Linked DNA regions of Homo sapiens: region 1 is linked to region 2. The links are contacts of gene promoters, found by promoter capture Hi-C in human tissues and cell types (Jung and others, 2019). All regions are on one chromosome and are shown on one strand. The core of a region is centred on a gene start or on the middle of the fragment in contact, and the rest is flanking DNA. Distances in the headings are between cores, read along the strand shown.

Region 1 (3,029 bases), core at 116-2,615, 260 kb after region 2:
ACTCTACCTGTTCTATTTCTGTACCAGATTGGAAGCTTTTGAGTGGTGTAGCCCATGATACAAGCATGGTTGTGTGTCTACTGTTGCAAGTATTCTAAAATGTGTCCCTTTTCATGAAGTGATATAACATAATGTCCTATGCTGGTGGATCAAACCCTTTGTAAGCCCTGAGATACTAGGTTTGGCTATGACTCTTCAAGAAAATAAAACAAACCTACACCCATCATATGTGTCAATTTCTATCAAGTTCATTTGCTGCCTTTTGTGGGGTAGAATAATCTTCCATTAAGTGGCCATTTTCTACTCAAGAAGTGATGCTACATTGGGCAGTTAACATTGTTTTCTATCATTGCCAGGTTAATATTTAGTAGAAAGAGAAGTTTTATCAGCCTTGTTGAGTGGGAAACTATGCTTTGTGTTTATGCAGTTTTCATCCTGCCACTATAGCTACTTCAATTAGGAGCCAATTATGCCACCACTGAGGTTGCTTATATCAGAATCTAGCTGATATAAATTGTCAGGTCCACTCAGTGTTCTTTATAGCTTAGGTTCTTTTCCATTATGTATAGACTATGATGAACATTGATCTTTTATATAAAGATCTTCAAACTTTGTTCTAACTTCTAGAACCATCCACATGCCACTTCATCCCTCTGCCTCTTTGTCACTAGTATTCCAGTCTTTCTCCTTCCAACAGCCTGGTCAATTAGCCAAGTTACCCACCATTAACAATAAGTTGAATTTTTGTGTATTCTTACATAGAACCACCTCTTTTTTATACAAAGAGGATGAGTGAGTCCATCAGCTGATTTGTCCGTGGGATGTATTTCTCCTAAGTACTATCTTTCAAAGTCACTCCTTAATGGATCAGTAACACATCTACAGTTCATTTTTGGCATACCAACTTTACTCATTTATGAACTAACTTGGCTTTCATCCCCCACCAGCTGGTCATAAGGGATCATCCACGTAGCTACAAGTGTAAGCTTAGGGAAAGTGCACCACATTGCAATAGTAGTGCACTAACATCAGTGGACTTCGCATCACCTCTTTGTGCTTTTTTTTTTTTTTTTTTTTTTTTTTTGAGACGGAGTCTCACTCTGTCGCCCAGTCTGGAGTGCAGTGGCGTGATCTCCGCTCACTGCAAGCTCTGCCCCCCGGGGTTCATGCCATTCTCCTGCCTCAGCCTCCTGAGTAGCTGAGACTACAGGTGCCTGCCACCACACCTGGCTAATTTTTTTGTATTTTTAGTAGAGACGGGGTTTCACAGTGTTTGCCGGGATGGTCTCAATCTCCTGACCTTGTGATCCGCCTGCCTCGGCCTCCCAAAGTGCTGGGATTACAGGTGTGAGCCACCATGCCCGGCCCCCTCTTTGTGCTCTTTCAGTTGTGCTTGATGGTCTTACTTGTGTCTTAGCATGGGCATACGTCTTTCTGTTATGTGAGTAGAATTAGCACTCAAAGTGTGGCATATGCTGCCTCCGGGGTTTCAGGAGGTCACTACATGTGGTACTTTCTTCTTGGTGGTAAAAGATAAAAAATGCTTTAGTTTGTCTATTAACTGAGAGAGGCTGTCGCAATTTTTCCTATACCGCAGGATCCCTAAAAACTTCTCTAATGTTTAAGATTCCTACTTTTTTGTATGGGTGTTTATCTCTATCCTTTCCCACCTAAAGAGCACTGTGTTTTGACAAGAATGCCAATATACTTGCATTTCATGCTCGTCTACCTGATTAATATATTGTCATTGATATAGTGGGTCAATAAAATATTATGCAAAATATCCAAAGAAAATAAGTATTTTCAAATTATAGATTTATTATAGAAGATGGAAGAGAATATATTTGCCACATAAATACTACATACTTGATAATCGAATCCAGGTTAATCTTAATCTTCCCTGGTAAAAACACTGCACCTGACATAAAACTTTAAACTGATGTTTCTACTTGGTTGAGATTGGAGTCCACAGTAGTCCTCCATGACCCTTTTCGTTACACACACAAAAGTAGCCAGTAAGAGAATCCAGTTTACAGAGAATGCTCTATTTATAAATAAATCTTGTGAGTTACCTTTCCTCTGGGTACTATTACAGTTCACTTCAGATGAAAATTTTAACAATAACTTGCTACAGCATGTCAGGGACCATCAACATTTCATCTGCAACCAGTGATGTGGTTCCTATTGTGATGCAGACAGTGATGAATCCAACTCTAGAATTTCTTATTGGCAATCTGTTTTCTAGAATCTTTTCTCACTTACAAGTAAGAACACAGTATCTGGTTTTCTGTTGCTGTGTTAATTTGCTCAGGATAATGGCTTCCAGATGCATCCATGTTGCTCCAGAGGACACGATTTTGTTCTTTTTTTGTGGCTGTGTAGTATTCCCTGGTGTACATGTATCACATTTTCTTTATCCAACCTTCTGTTGGCACCTGGGTTGGTTTCATGTCTTTGCTATTGTTTGACACACTTTTTAGTTGTGTTGTTTGTTTTCTTATTGAGTTTCAAGAATTCTTGTGTCTTTTGCAAATATTTTCTTCCAATTAGCAACTTATAATAAAATGTTAAGTCCCAAGATAATAAGGTGGGTATCAAATGCATCTGCTAGAATAGCCCAATGACATTTAATAAGTCTATTTGCTTCAGATAACTTAACATGGAGAATATGTAATCTCATTTATCTTATGGGAGTTGATCGTCTTCTCCAGACATGGGAACTAGCAATGAGTGGGCTTATCCCTGCTCATTGTTTTAAATTTCTATTCATTTCTTATTCACAGATATATGTATTTTGTATTTGAGCCATGTTGTGTCTTTTATATTATTATTCCATTAAATTGTATTAATTAAAATTATTTTATTATTAATGTAAGGCTTTCCATTATTTTAACCAAAGTTTTTCTTTTTAACTTAGAAATATGCTTTAAGAAATACTTAAAACAGTTATATATATATCCTTATTTTATACATTTTTACTTAAATTGTCTTCACATTTTTATATTGTTTCATAGCCTTAAATAATTATT
Region 2 (2,938 bases), core at 218-2,717:
GGAACATAAAACAGACAGGGAGCGGGGTCCGGATTGAAGAGCAGAGATGATGAGCTTAGTTGATAATGAAATCAATGAGCTTAGAAATGATGAGTTAGGTGTTGAGTTTGAGGTGCCTGAAGGACACCTATGTCCAATAGACTTTACCATATTTGGAGTTTAGGAGATTGGTCTGGCCTGCTTGGGTGATGAAAGCTACTGGACAAAGTAAGATTACTCATAGTTACTATATAGAGGGGGAAGACAGATTATCTTCCTGGGCCATAGCTACCAGTAATGTGAGGAGTAAAGGACAAGGAGTCTCTCTGCCAACTCCATCCTGTTGACATTTAGTCTCTTCTAGTTCCAAAATACACATTTTAAAATCTCTGTGGAGCTATAAATCCTCCCAATATTGTCCATTTCACTCCTCTGTTCACGTACAAATATCTTAAAAGGGTTGTCTACATCGACTCTCTTCATCTCTTCCTAACACACTCCTCACACTGCTTCACTCAAGATTCCATCCCCCACCCTGTTATCCAGGTAGCCAGTGACCTTTGATTTCAGTCTTTTCACTGCTTGATCTCTCGGCAGCTTTCTGAACTGCTGACCAATCTTCCTTGTCAATATATTTTTTCCTGTCTCTTTTGTGGCACTGTCTACTGGATTTCCTACGTCCTTGGCTCTTCCATTTGTTTTGACTAGTAATAATGAACACAAACATTCACTGGAGACTTGCTAGTATCTCATTTCGTTTTTCACATTAAATGCTTTCACACTAAATGCTTATAGTAGTCATACTATTAATAAATGGGCGGACCCAAGTCTGTTTCCTTCTAGAGCCCCATGTTCAAACAAACATGCCACACGGTCTCATTTCTGGAGGGACAGGACATCTATGATTAGCGACCCAAGGAAGAAAGGGTGGGCTTGAGAGGGTGAGAGGGAGAGCTAAGGGGCAGCGCAGAGTAGTGGAAAGAGCTCAGATGCTAGAGTCAGTTGGGTCCTTGGTTCTTAAAGGCATCATCCTCAGAGCCATTGCTCAGGGACGGCCACGAGGCTGAAGATCCCCTGTGCGACCACAAGGTGGCAGCATGAAGAAGCGAGAGTCCCTGACACAGCTTCGATCCCCTTGGGTAGTTAGTGTGTTCGGAGCGCTGGTATCCCTGCGTGCTTTCTGCTGAGTGCCCACCCCTCCATTCCAGCAGGTCCTCTCTTCCAGCCCCGTTATTCCTCTTCTCCTTTCCACCCCGCGACACAGCCTCCCTCTAGTCTCTTGAGCTGGGCTCAGAGGGATAGTGATAGAGCTCAGTCCCTTTGGGTAGGAGTCAGGGCTCAGCTTTCCTTGGGCGTCTGAGCAGAGCGTCAGTGCCAGGGAGACCCGACTCGTTCACTCTCCATCACTCTACACACTCCTGAGGGGCCCCAGAGAAGCTATAATTGGGCGGCCTCCATGCGCTGGGGAAGCACTGGTGGTGAGTGTAGCAGGCTCAGCCCAGGGAGGTTAGGCAACGGGAGGGTCCGCAGAGACAGGCACAGAAGGCTCATTGCATAAGGAAGCCGGGACTTGATCAGTCAGCTTGGCTGCTTGGAGAGGTCTTCTAGTGTACACCTTTTCCAGATCACAGTAGCCCGGTTCCTGGACCTTGTTCCTACACAGAGGAATTTCTTCAAGCCTGTGAGACCCGTTCCAAGCTTTGCCTATCCTTTGTCCCAGGACAGGACTCCTCAGTTCCTGCCTCCTACTCTTCACTTAAGCAAGGCAAGGGGAATTACTTTACCAGGAAAAAAATGTGTGTGAGTGTGTACGTGTGTGTGTATGTGCACGTGTGTGTTGTGGTGGTGCTGGTGGTGATTGGTGATGAAGAAGGAAACTGAAGCTGGGCTGGAAAGTTGAGTTAGAGGAACACTGTGAAGGGCCTTGTCTGCATACTGTGGAGTTACTAGTTCTCACTTTATCTGGAAAGCTATGGGAATCACTCCTAACTTGCTCAGCAGGAGCCCCAGGTGTCCAGTTTTGCTGTTTAGATGGCAGTGGTGTGGAAGGTGGTTTGGAATAGACTAGGTTTGGAGGCAGGGAGGTAAGTTGGAAGGCTCTTTTTATAATCAGGGCAGAGTGGATAATATAATTAAGTTGGGAGGAGGTGTATTAAGAGGAACGGCCCCAATAATTAATTGGAAAAGTTGAATTGCATGTGGGGGTGAAAGAGGAGACGGGTCAAGATGAGACCAGCTGCCCTGACTTGGGTGATGTGGGTTCTGAGCAGTGGCATTCTCTGAGATCAGGAACAGGTTTGGAAGGGGTCCCTGTTAGAGGCAAGATGAGTGGGAGGCCCATAGGCTATCCAGGTAGAACTATCAAGGAGGCGGTAGGTTATATGGCTGAATCTCAGGACACAGGCTTAGAACAGTGTGGTCTGTAGAGAGAAAGAAGTTGAGCCTGGGACGTTGTGTGATCACCAGGGAGAGTAGGTGGAGGGAGAGGTGTGTGTGCCTGTGAACACTGTGGAGTAACAGCAGCAGCACTGGCTGATTTTCTGTTCATGTCTCAGCTGCATCTGATTTCCATGACATGCTCCTCTTGCTGAGCGCAACCTGGGACTGACTCTCACCTGGGGCTTGAGAGATCTTGATGGCAGATGCTGCTTATTGTTCGTTTGGGAGCTGGAAATGGAAATGATAGTCCCTCTTCATTCACCTCCCTGCCCCCAAGAACACCAGAACAACTTTCCCCAAAGTTCTCTGATTTAAAGCACAAATTTCCTAGGGGAAAGGGGCTTATCGTTTTTTGTTTGTTTATTTGTTTTGTTTTGTTTTTGAGTTGGTGTCTCGCTGTGTCACCCAGGCTGGAATGCAGTGGGGGTGATCTCGTCTCACTGCAGCCTCTGCCGCCCAGGTTCAAATGATTCTCCTGCCTCAGCCTCCTGAGTAGCTGGGATTACAGGTGCGCTCCACC

Evidence for each region. The method cuts DNA at HindIII sites, captures the fragments that hold promoters and counts their contacts. A contact is called where the count stands out against the background at its distance.
Region 1: a contact is called between a fragment that was not itself captured here and the fragment with the promoter of OR51D1 in region 2, in 5 of the 25 tissues and cell types used here (H1 embryonic stem cells, aorta, mesenchymal stem cells and 2 more).

Annotation. Positions count from the first base shown.
Region 1 is chr11:4,900,093-4,903,121 of GRCh38, forward strand. All of the region lies in intron 2 of MMP26 (matrix metallopeptidase 26), which reads left to right. Among named protein-coding and RNA genes, the nearest start is that of OR51A7, 2.2 kb to the right of the region's middle. The HindIII fragment of the contact is 6,232 bases long and covers 1-3,029 here.
Region 2 is chr11:4,636,010-4,638,947 of GRCh38, forward strand. OR51D1 (olfactory receptor family 51 subfamily D member 1) reads left to right here and starts at 1,468. Exons shown (of 2, transcript NM_001004751.3): 1 at 1,468-1,744. The HindIII fragment of the contact is 12,772 bases long and covers 1-2,938 here.